2 separate regions of the Homo sapiens genome follow, and region 1 is linked to region 2. The links are contacts of gene promoters, found by promoter capture Hi-C in human tissues and cell types (Jung and others, 2019). All regions are on one chromosome and are shown on one strand. Each heading gives the region's core, a stretch centred on a gene start or on the middle of the fragment in contact. The rest is flanking DNA. Distances are from core to core; before and after follow the strand shown.

What was found. Contacts are between HindIII fragments. The study calls those that stand out against the background at their distance.
Region 1: a contact is called between a fragment that was not itself captured here and the fragment with the promoter of TMEM74 in region 2, in 1 of the 25 tissues and cell types used here (hippocampus).

The regions. Positions count from the first base shown.
Region 1 is chr8:108,844,686-108,851,295 of GRCh38, reverse strand. No RefSeq gene overlaps it. Among named protein-coding and RNA genes, the nearest start is that of TMEM74, 60 kb to the right of the region's middle. The HindIII fragment of the contact is 4,370 bases long and covers 245-4,614 here.
Region 2 is chr8:108,784,253-108,790,518 of GRCh38, reverse strand. TMEM74 (transmembrane protein 74) reads left to right here and starts at 2,925. Exons shown (of 2, transcript NM_153015.3): 1 at 2,925-3,043; 2 at 5,382-6,266. The coding sequence starts at 5,421. RefSeq lists silencers at 2,810-2,989, 3,405-3,699. The HindIII fragment of the contact is 13,104 bases long and covers 1-6,266 here.

The sequences.
Region 1 (6,610 bases), core at 1,180-3,679, 61 kb before region 2:
GAAAGTTATCTTAGTATCCTTTATAAATTGAAATAGTGGTGACGACACTGGCAATGCATACATTAGCTGCGGCATTTGAAAGGCTATAAGCAACATACATACCATGGCATCCATGGCAGAGAGAGGACTGCATTCATAATTTATGAATCCCAAAGATATTATTCAACCTTTTATAACAGCTTCTTGTCAGGAATAAGCAGCAGGATTCCTACAATTAGAAAACATTTCTCACAATATGCCTCAGTGATATATCACTTATGCACCTTCCTGATGAGCTTGAATTTAGTAATCGAAAAGCCATCCCTACTAGCTATGCTTAGGAATATTTAAATAAGTGAAGGCAACATCCTGTTTTAATGCAGCTATTTATTGAAGCATAAGTGCAATCCAAAAATGCAGGAGGATAGCAACTGTACAGGTTTGCAAAAGGACAAGGGTGATGAGGCTCGATTGCTGATAGAGCCACCTCAGGTAAGTTGTCTGACAAAGCCACCTCAGTTATGTTGGCTGATAGCAGGTGATGTCTGTTCCACGCCATCCCTAGCTGCAGATTTGGTGAGCAACACCAGAGTGCTTGCACAGCACTGGGGCTCATGACTCATTGACTTATTGCTTTTGAAATAAAATTTCTCTCCCTTGAAGTCAGCTGAGGACATTGCAATTCTTCTGTCTGCTTTTGCTATCAATTTTATTCAGCTGGCACTGCCCCATTGCTACCTGGTAATACAATTTAATGTGTGAGGGGAAGAGAAATCATAGTTCTTACTTCCTACAGAGGGCGAGAAGATTAAAAGATCCGTGCAGAGCCCCTGCTGTGGAGAGACTGCAAAGGTGTTATTAGATGGAGACAGTGCATAATTCTTATGCCCCTTGCAGCATCAGTGAGCAAATTGTATTTGCAGGCAGGTGCTTCTGAATACCAAAATTGCCATGACTATGTGTGGAGGACAAAGTCTGCGTGATGGTTTGGCTTGAAGCCTGTCTCTGAGACAGCTTGGTGCAGGCACAGATGTCCCAAGTAGTAATGCGACAGAGCAGCCCTCATGCTGAGAAACACTGTATTGTCTGCCTCTTCTCAGCACCCTCTGCATATGTTCTTGTATTTTTATATCCATTTCACTCTCACACTTCACTGATCTTTTAAATTTGTAAATTAACAAAAGAGATGACTCTGTTTCAAATGAAACTAAACTGAGCTACCTACTAAAAAAAGCCAGAGGGCTGCTATCTAAAGGGTGCATATGTGGGAAGAAGACCACCAGTTTATCCTGGCTTTGGTTGAAATGCCAACCGGAGATTTTTTTAAATGCACATGAATTTTTTTTTTCTCTGATGTTAGAAAATCACTGAAGTCAAACAGGAGAAAGCAAAAAACAAAAAATTTTGGACTTGTAACTCTGTTTTGAAGTGAGGCATTTCCAAACACTTTCAGACATTTTAAGACCTTCCTTCTTTGCTGATCCAGACCAGACTCTGATATATGCTTAGGTGATATGTAAAAATGTGCAAGACTGGATACACCTGGGCTTGAAACAAAGCCTTTCAATGTAAAAGCAATATATGACTACTAACCTCTCTAAACTTTGATTTCCTCAAGTATATAATGGGAATAATAGTGGATCATATTTCATAAGAATGTTGTAAAGATCAAGCAATATATGTCAATGCTTACATAGAATGTGGCACGTAGTATGTGCTTATTACGTAATATACATTATTATTTTCTCTTAAAGTAAATAATCTGTTGGGAACTTAAAAAGAGGAAGTACTGGACTTACTCTCATGTATGTGTCTATGTACTTGTGTGCTTATATCTGTGTATTTTGTTTTATAATTGAAAGTAAAGGTGCTTAAGTACATTACCCATCTGTACTTGATTGGGCTAGAATTCTACTCCTCTGTGCTATTATAAATGATTTAGAAAAATGTGAATTTGGTTTCCACTAATGTCTTTAAGTCACTAAAGTAGTGTAGAGAATAGTGAGGAAATCTGGACATGTAATTCTATTTTTGTTACCAAGTTACTTTGAAGTGAGAATAGTCTAAACAAAACAGACTTTTAAAGAGATACCAGAAAGTACAAGTAACCCAGAACCTCATTGTGCAGAGTCACTCATGTTTATTCATTCATGCATTCATTCACTAAATAAATATTAATAACACATCTACAGCATGCCTGTGAGAGTTGTGAGGTACAGAAAACAAATTACTAAGGGGTAAGATATACTTACCTTAAGGAAATTGCAGTCTTTGAGGAGAGACAAATAAGTAAAGAAACACTATAACATCAATGCAATATAAAAGGAATTATAATATGAACAAATTAGGCTATTTGATTTGCAGAGCAGTTTTTTAGCATCTCTCACCTTTTCATAAAAACTGGAAGTCTTAATTCATATATGTAACAACAGTCCTTGAAATTCTTAGATAATTTTAAGTTATGTTTTTAATTTTGCTTTAGACATATTCTCTCTGTTGAGAATGTCCAATGTGGAGCTTTTTTAAAGTTATATTAGTTATATTAACTTTTCATATTTTTTGTTTTAGAACAGTTTGCCATTTAGTTTATAAAATGCCATCACACACATAGAACAGGACACATAAAATTTAAAAGTAGAATAATCACAACCCAAATAAAAGTAGTTTTCATCAAATGTTCATTTTCTGTATGGTATTAGGTAAAAGGAAATTTAATACTTTAATTACCTAAGATAAAAAAAAAGATTTGGAGCTATCAGCCTCAAATGTAGCTATATTTGAAAAAAATAAGTTATCTTTTCAAATCTTTTCTTTCTTCTTAATTTTTCTTTCTCTTGCTTGCTTGCTTACTTTTTTTTCTTCCTTCCTCCTTCCCTGTTCCTTTTTTCCTTTATTTCCTCATGCATTTTTTTTTTCAAACTTGCTGGACTAATCAGATTTATCAAAATAGCCTAGTATTTCTGACTTCTGAAACAACTAATATTCATACATAAAAACTTGACCGAAACTTAGAATTTTCACTCATTTCTTTTTCTTTAACTGAGCTTTAAAACTTAAAAATCTATACACATACTTTTGAGCAGAAGCTGTTTTCCTAAATCCTGTGCAGATAAAAGTGCCACACTTCAGTGGAAGGATCATCGGCACTTGGCTCTACTACCAAAACAGCATCTTCATGGTGAAGTCTTTTTATTTCTTGAGAATCCTATAATTATTGGTAAAATGAGGGGGGATATATGGGCTATTTGCCTATTTTTTAGTAGCAGAATTATTTTTTCAAATTCAACCTTACAAGTAATACCGTTACATAAAACAGTTAAAAATATAACTGGTCTAGCATGTTCTCACTCATAAGTGGGAGCTGAGCAATGAGAACACATGAACACATGGAGGGGAACATCACACACTGGGGCCTGTCAGGGGGTGGGGGGCAAGGGGAGGGAGAGCACTAGGACAAATACCTAATGCATGTGGGGCTTAAAACCTAGATGATGGGTTGATAGGTGCAGCAAACCACCATGGCACATGTATACCCAGGTAACAAACCTGCACATTCTGCACATGCATCCCAGAACTTAAGTAAAATTTATATATATATAAATATATATATATATATATATTTATATATCTGGTCTAACCAAGTAAGGAGATGAGCGGGCAAGCCCCTGGCCCAACTGAGGAGCTCAAGGAATCCAAAGATTGTCCTTGAAAATCTTTGAACTAGGAAATCCCTAAGGTTCCTTCTACTGCTAACAGCTTATGACTATAAGTGCTAAATAATTCACACTGAATTACACTTCTCTAAATAAATGGATGCCTTTCATTTTCACGGATGAAGTAACTGAGATTCTCTTTATGCTTGTGACATTTACTTCCTTTTTAAAAAATTGACAAAACAGTAACCTAGAATTAATCTCCCTGAAAATTACCCATGACCAGAAAGAAATTTAGGCATAAAATATATTATTACTAGACTAACAGATGAGGGCTATTGAAACAATAATAATATTTTCACATACTATTCATGAAAAAAGACCTGTCTACAGTGATCTAACTTAGTAACTCTTAAACTACTTGATTATGTTATTAGGTTGGTGCAAAAGCAATTGCAGTTTTTGCCACTGAAAGTAATGTCAAAAACTGCAATTACTTTTGCACCAACTTAATATTTCTCTTTATGTAACCTCTATTGACCTAAAATGCAGTTGATTTTACTCTTGTTAATTTTTTCTAGCTATGTATGATTACTTAATATCTATAAACCATAAAGGATATGTATAACATTAGAACTTTAATAAATCAATATTTGGTTTTAGCATTACTTATTCCAAAGAAGCTTCATACATTTATTTTAAACTAATATTCTCTACTATTACTATTAGTCACTTTGCAAACATTTTATTAATCTACTCACATTAAAGATGAAGAGGATTCCATTTAAAGTCTATAATAGAATATATATTTTCCTTTGTACATCTCACCCTTGACAACAATCAGAGCTGATTCTTTGAGCAGTAGCAGCTCATGACATTTCAGGAATTAAGAATGGGAAATGAATAACATATGTGATTTGTGTTTCATGGAGAAGGTCCTACCCTAATATTATCAGATGAAAAATGTGAGATAATCTAGGAAGAGTTTCATCTTCTGGTTATTTTTGTTACATTTGCAGATGGAGTTTTCTCTTTGCCAATCGTATTTTCAAGAATTCTAAGTGCCTGTCCCACACTAACCTGTAGCTGAGATGGTGGAGAGAGTTGAGAGCTGGTGGGGTGGGGAATCTTTGGAAGTGTTCTTCTGAATGGGAGGCATGTTATGTCATGCTGCTGCCTTCTTTTTATTAAAGAAATGATAGCTATTATAATACTTGATGGACATTTATATCTATTGTGGGCCTTATCTTCCTGGCAAAGTGATTCATTTAGGTAAAGAAGCTTCCTCCACCTCAGATTTGTCTCATATTTCCATATATCAACACTTTTTTAAGCCAGATGAAAAACCCTACAACTTTGTGATTCTTAGATTTAGGTTGGAAATCTCATTCTATTTTCACACTCATTTGTTCTCTGTATTGAATACAGTGAACAAATTTTATCCTGTATCCCAGGAGCAGCCTGAAGACACTGTGAGATCTGTGGTCTGTTTCATATAAATGAGAAGAAATTATTTTCGGCAGCCATGTTTTCTCATCTAGACGGTTAAGACATACAAATAATAACCAATAATATTCAACTCACCTGCAGCATCTTATTCTTTTCAATATCTGGAGTACTGTGTTAAGAAGTTCAGAGGCTGCTTCCAAGATCAACAGGGAGGAATGCCAATAAGAATGTGTGCCATAAGTACAGAAGAGAATGGAGACATTTGCAATAAAGTTGTCATACTTGCATAATTAAGAAATATTGTTTAACATGTTAATTTATTTCATTATCTGGGAGTGCAATATGGAACTATTTTATCTGACTCAAAGTTCATCAGGATTGCAGTTTTGCTCAAAATTTACCATTATTAGGATTATATTCTAATTCTACTGTAGTTTGCTTAAGTGTTGATCTCTGACTTGTTTTCCAAATAATGGTCATTTTTTCATGGTTCAATCAGTTGGCATTTGAGCACATTTTTATGCATTTTAAACAGCCCAGAGCCATTTTTTTTAGAAAAGTTCTAGCATTTTAGATGCCATATCTTTGGCACTGATGAAGAGTTAACAGATGAAGTAGCCCCCAGAGAATGCCTCCGTAATTTGTGTAACTCTACTATTAAGTACGTTGTTCATTACATTATCCAATGTGCCATCTATAAAAAAAAAAAACATGGTGATACAGTTTCCAATTTTTGATACAAAACTCCATCTATAATTATAACAAAAATGACCAGGAGATGAAACTTCTTACCGTTTTTCATCTGATAATATTGGGGCAGGACCTCCTTAATGAAATGGAAATCTCACGTTATTCATTCCATCCTTAATACCTGAAATGTAATGAGCTGCCACTGCTCAAAAATCCAGAAAGCATTTACTTCTGATTAGTCAGTTTGCTCTCAACAACTGAATACTGAGATGTGTATGTTTTCATTGTCACTCCAACTGCTAAGAAACTCAGAGATAAAGGTTTCATGCAATTGCTCTACTAAGGCAGCAGGACGTGGGGATTTGATACAAATATCTTTTCATTTACAAAGTGGTTTTGCTTTTTTATTGTGTTTAATGCTTTTTGGTTTATTACACTAATTCCATTATCATTAAATGTCTGCAATACGTTTTTGAATGAATTTTAAGATAACAGAAATATGTATGTATGTATACACCATTAAACAAAATTTATGGGAAGGCATTATTTTAGACCAGCCTCTTGTCCTAGGCCCCAGCAGACCAGACCAAACCAAAATGGAGCCACTCATGCTAAATGTCACATAATCAAACTGAAACTTTAAGGAAGCAGTCAAATCCCCAAACAAGCCAGTTTTTCCTTAAAACAGATTTCAACAATCAGTAAGAACCCAGTCTACCTGAGATAATGAGGAAGTCCCTTCTGCTCTAACCTTTACAAGGAAAGAGCCCTGTAGTAGCCTGATATTAACCAATCTATTCTTTTTGTTGTTCTTTTTTCTTGTTTCTACCTTACAAAAA
Region 2 (6,266 bases), core at 1,676-4,175:
CCCTCTCAACAGAAATACTGCACTTTCTGCAGGAGGTAAGGTGTTCAGCATGTAGATGCTGACCTTAAGGAGTTTATGATTGATTACCTTAGAGATTTAGGCACCTAAGTGAGAAGTTAAACCACATGCAGTGGCTACCTAGCCATTCCAGAAATGTCGTAAAGCAGTGGATGATAAATATCAAAAACACCAGTACTGACAAGTCCCAGCAAAGTTCACAGGAGGTGTAATCCTTGGAAGAAAAAGGCTTCAGGGAAAAAAAAAAAGTAACTTAAAATCAGTTCAGCCTGGGAATCACAGAGGTCCTCTAATCCAACTAGATGAATCCCTTCTATGAAATCACTAATAAATGGCTCTCCTTTTTTTTTTTAATCCTCACCAGTACCAGAGAATTTGCTTTCATGAGACATCAATTTAAAAGTTTTAGAAATAATGTCCTTCCTTATACAAAGTCTCAAATCAGCCTCCTTCTTAAATTTAATAGTGCTATCCAGAGCTTCTCAGATCAGTGCTTTGGCATCCTCCAGCACTCCAGTGTGTCACAGGTGTGCTGACTTATTTATTTCCTTAGCCCTCCAAGCTGTCCTGCAGAGACTGAAGTACCCACAGCCCCAGAACTATGGCCATGAGAAACCTCCTGTGTTTATCACATTGCCATAAATAGTATCACCTCTTATGTGTACTCTGCTGTAAAAAAGATTGTGAAGCATTGCTCAGTATAATGTGTTGGCAAAGAGATCAAGTCTCTGGAATCACACAGACCCAAGTTAGAACCTTAGCTCTGCCCGATATTAGTTTTCAGGCCTTGGAAAAGAAACTACATCTTTTCAAGCCTCAATTTCTACATTGCAAAATGGGTGCAATAATACTGCCTCCCTTGTGAAGTTGGTGTAAAAATTAAAGATGATAACATAATAGCACTAACAAAAAAGTATTATTGTTATTTGTTCTGCTTTTACCCTTTTAAATATACTATAGAATTCTTCTTCTATTTTTAGAAACTTCAGAATATTTGAAGCTAGTTTATTGTTTCCTCTCAGTATTCTCCTATGGCTAAATAGCCTAAGTTCCTAAGTTTTTCCTCGTCAACATAAATTCAAGTTCCTTCTACATCTTAGTTTCTCTCTTTATTTCTTTTTGCATATGTAGTACTAAGAACTGGATGCATCCCTGTAGATTTGGCTTGACAAACTAGTCCTTGAAGTGTGGATGGAATAGGGCAGTGGAGGAAAGATATTCATGCTGGAGAACCGTGTAGTAAGCAAAGGAGAAGTCATAATACATCTGTCATGTTTATCAACAAATGGGCCTCACTGGCTACAAATATAATCATATGGGGGAAAAAGAATTTTAAAGAGGGAGCATTGTGAACTCCTGTAATCATGTGACTATAGATTCTATCCAATGTAATGAAATACCAACATAATTGTCATTAAAGGAGATAGATCTCTCTTTTGAAAGCAAGCAACCACAGTATTTATGTGAGCTACAAGCACAATGTCATAATACATACTATAATCCCTAATCCCTTTTTTCTTTTTTTCTTTTTTTTTTTTTTGAGACGGAGTCTTGCTTTGTCGCCAGGCTGGAGTGGTGCAGTGGCACGATCTCTGCTCACTGCAACCTCCGCCTCCGGCTTCAAGCGATTCCCCTGCCTCAGCCTCCTGAGTAGCTGGGAGTACAGGCACGCGCCACCACGCCCGGCTAATTTTTTCTATTTTAGTAGAGACGGGGTTTCACCATGTTGGCCAGGATGGTCTCGATTTTCTGACCTCGTGATCTGCCCGCCTCGGCCTCCCAAATTGCTGGCATTACTGGCGTGAGCCATCGTGCCCAGCCCATCCATACTATAATCCTTTTTTGCTCCCCTAGAATTGTCCCAACAGGATGCTGGAAAACTGGAGATTATCTGCAAGCTACACATACCCTGGGCTTTCAGTGGCTGTTGGCTATTGCAGTCCACTCTGGTTGAAAGAGGCTGGTGACACAGTTACCTTGTCCTATCCTAAGAGTCACAACTCAGAAGATTCAACCTTCAGATTTCCTTTATTCCTGAGCCCTTTTATTCTGGCCTTCTGGTCTTTCTTCCATTCATTCCATATAGCATAACGCTTAGAATCTGTTGGTGTTCATCCCCCCCCCCCCACCTCTGCTAAGTATTAGTTGTGTGACATTGGGCAAATTATTCTACTTTGTAACTCAGTTTTGCCTTCTGTTAAAATGAGGATTTTTTTTTACAGTACTTTAACAATAAATTGTGACCATTAAATGAGATAATGTATCTATAGTGCTTAGAAGAGAGCCTGGCAATAATAAGCGCTATTTATGTTAACTGTTATTTTGAGTCATTATTATTCATACATTCAACGAATACCACTGTGCTAAATACAGGGGATGTGTTGGTACATCGGACAATCTCTTACCCCTTATGGTCATATTTCTTCTGATTTTGTGAGACACGCAATGACTTTCGAATCTGACTCCTGGATGCAATTTCAGAAGCTGCTGTTGGTAACTGTGGATGAGGCACTTACCCTCTCTGAGCCTGTTTCCACATCTGTAAAATGAGGATTAATAAAATCTACTTGGAAGATTTGTTTTGACTATTAAAAAGACAAAATATGCAAATTATCTGGCACATTTGAAGTCGAATATACTTTCCTTTTCACAGTCTTGTGGCCACACCTGAGGCTAGGGAACTCCACTCTAGGCTTAGAAAACAGTGCTGTCTTCTTAAGTGCTGGGGAGGAGTAAGAGGGTATGGCGGGAACTCATCTGCAGGAAGGGTAAAACCCAGAAGGCGTGGGAGGAGACAGAGACAGGAGGGATGCAGGGACCGCCCCTGGCCTACAACTCCCGGGATGCTCCGGGAGCGCCCCGCCCCGCCCCACCCCGCCCGCCGTGGCGGGCGCTGCCCACCCGGCGGAGCCGAGCGGCGTGCAGAGGCTACAAGTGCCGTAGCTGGTGATTGGGGGACTTTCTCCGGGAACCGTGCCGGGAGAGCGCGCGGTGCTGGAGCCGCACCGGGTGGCCGAAGCAGAAGGTGAGTGGCGGGGAGTGGGATGGGGTGGAGGCTTTGAATGCAAGGGTGAGAGCCCTGGAGCCTAGCAGAGCTGGAGCGCATATCCCCGCTCTCTCTCCTTCGTCTCCGAGTACTAGGCGGACACATCCGTACCTCGAATGCCTCAGTGGGCGCAGAGTTCACCAGAAATGGATAGCCGGATTCCTCGGCGCCTGCTGGGGGCACCGCTGCCAGGTGCTTGGGGCTCGCTCTCCCGGCTTTGCTCGCACAGGGCGCATCCAGAGGTCGCCTCCCCGAGATCAGCCTTGCCTGTGTCAGTTTAAAGCAAATATTAATGCTTTTAATTGATGACAGATGGACGAGGGAAAGTGCGTGTCCCCTCGCTTTAAGGTGCAATGTCGTTAACTGGGCTTTTAAGCAGATCAGAGGAAAAAGAGGGAGAGGACGGAAGAAAAGAGTCTTTAGCTGGTCCCCTGGGATTATCCATTCTCCACTGAGAATGGAAACCCCGGATTAGGGAGCTGCAAAGGAAATCGACTGTGCTGCTAGCATACCTCCGGTAGAACAAGCGAACAAGCGGGAGTAGCTTTTCTTTAAAGAGAGGTAGAGGCGGCCGTAGGGAATTAAGTGGGGATTTCTCTCTTCTTTTGTTATAAACTGAAAGTCTCAAAGAACCCTGCTGATTTTATCCAAGGTAGGCTAGTGTGATGAGTTAATGGTACCAAAGGTTAATCAGAGCCCCTAATGCCTGAGAAAACTGGAAGAAGAGTTATCGGTAATTGATGAAGCCTGTTACCATCACTTCATTCATTGAGGGATCCTTTAGTGGGGGTTTGTTCTAGTTTAGTAGTGATTCTTTTGCCCTGTTGTTTTTTGCTGTTTTCACTGTAGAGAAACTCCGATAACAGGAGAAAAACGTTTTCTGTTTTGCTTTTTTTGTTTTGTTTTAAACAAACTCTTAGGTGTAGCAGAAAACATGTCAATTCCCTCTCCCATATTTTGAGTTGCCAGGTTGACCTTAGGTGACCCTTGCCTGTGTTTCTGTTACCAGCTTTGGAGCTGTGGATTTTGAATTATAAGAAGCCTCAAGCCGTTGGGTTAAATCAATTATCACCCTGGATTTGGAAGCAAAATAAAAGGAGCCTTTGGTTAAAATCTCTAATGATAGTGGAAAGTGAATTTTTATTCCTTAGAAACATGGCAGAGGCAGAGAAAAGCCGATGGTTTTCTGCTCAAACCAAAGTTCTCTCCCAGAAATGCCCCTTGCTGCAGTCGGGGGTGAGGAGTGACATGTTTATAAAATTACAGAGGTAACCTTGGAAATAGCTTCTCACCTATTTGTCTCCACAGAACTCTTACTCTGTGGGTTTATAGTTTGTCTTTTATTATCAGTTCACTTCTAGATTGGGTTTGTAAAACTATCCAGATGGTCAATTTCTTGTGCATTGTGTGATAGCAAAGCATGCAGAGAGGGAGGAACACAGACCCAGGGAACGGGAGTAGCAGATCCTGCAGCTGGAGCAGGCAGGTGTGTGTGTGGAGGAGTGGGTTGGCCCATTGTATTTTGCAGGGATTGCCGTAAGGTCTGTTGCCTGTATGCTTTGGGGTCCAGAACATGCTTCCCCCATGGAGCAGTGAGGGAATAGGGCTAAGTGGAAGCACAGTGAATAAGCAGCATATGGTCTTGTAAATACAGGGCTGTGTCACTAGGGTCATTGGATGTATGAGGTGTAAGCTTAGCAGAGGTGGCTGATTAAGCTGGCCTTTTTCATCTACTTCAGAGCTATGGAATCAAAATGCTGAGTTCCTGCCCAGCTGATAGGGGTGTATAGTCATTCACTGATGGTGATGCTCCAAAGCTAATCTGTATTAGAATTTGCTCTGAACTAGGGAGAGTGTAAACACTTACAATCTTACTGAATTAACAAGTCTATGCTTCCCCAAGTCCTCCAGAAAATCGGCAGCTCTGCTAAAAAGGGCTCTTGCCTTTCTCATTTGTCTTTTTACAGGAAACTTGCCTTCTCGTTTGAGGGATCCTTTTGCAGGAATGCGCGAGTCCTTGAATAAATTTGGCTTGGTGACGGCAGTATTCTTTCTCAGTAGACACTGCCACTTCCTCCACGCACCTTTCTACCCTGACTTAAGTTTCTCAGTGTTAATCACTATGACAAGTGAGAGCATTTGTCCCTTCCACACTTTCCTGCCACTAGGTATCCCCTCCCTTCTTTTGCCTGTTTGAGGTGGAAAAGGGGCTAAACAGGTGCAGCTGTGAAGGAAATGGGGACCCCAGGAGCAACACTCCTGGAAGTACAACCTTAGCTTCTGTTGGGTTCTTATCTAACTCTGTTGCTATTGGCAGACTTTCCGGAAGCTGCTGGGGGATGTCTGACTAGCTCTCATGGAGCTCCACTACCTTGCTAAGAAGAGCAACCAGGCAGACCTCTGTGATGCCAGGGACTGGAGTTCAAGAGGGCTGCCTGGTGACCAGGCAGATACAGCAGCCACAAGAGCTGCTCTCTGCTGTCAGAAACAGTGTGCATCCACCCCAAGAGCAACCGAGATGGAAGGGTCTAAACTTAGTTCTTCTCCAGCATCCCCCTCCTCCTCTCTGCAAAACAGTACTCTTCAGCCAGATGCCTTTCCACCAGGACTTCTCCACTCAGGGAACAACCAAATAACAGCGGAACGGAAAGTCTGTAACTGCTGCAGCCAGGAATTAGAAACTTCTTTTACCTATGTGGACAAAAACATCAACTTGGAGCAGCGGAACCGGAGCTCGCCATCAGCAAAAGGGCATAATCACCCTGGGGAGCTTGGCTGGGAAAATCCAAATGAGTGGTCCCAAGAGGCTGCCATATCTTTGATATCTGAAGAGGAGGATGATACAAGTTCAGAAGCCACGTCTTCAGGGAAGTCTATAGACTATGGTTTCATCAGCGCCATCTTGTTCTTGGTCACTGGGATCCTGCTCGTGATCATCTCTTACATCGTCCCACGGGAAGTGACTGTGGACCCCAACACTGTGGCAGCCCGGGAGATGGAGCGCCTGGAGAAGGAGAGTGCGAGGCTGGGGGCTCACCTGGACCGCTGTGTGATTGCGGGGCTCTGCCTCCTCACGCTGGGGGGCGTCATCCTGTCCTGCTTGTTAATGATGTCCATGTGGAAGGGGGAGCTCTATCGTCGAAACAGATTTGCCTCTTCCAAAGAGTCTGCAAAACTCTATGGTTCTTTCAACTTCAGGATG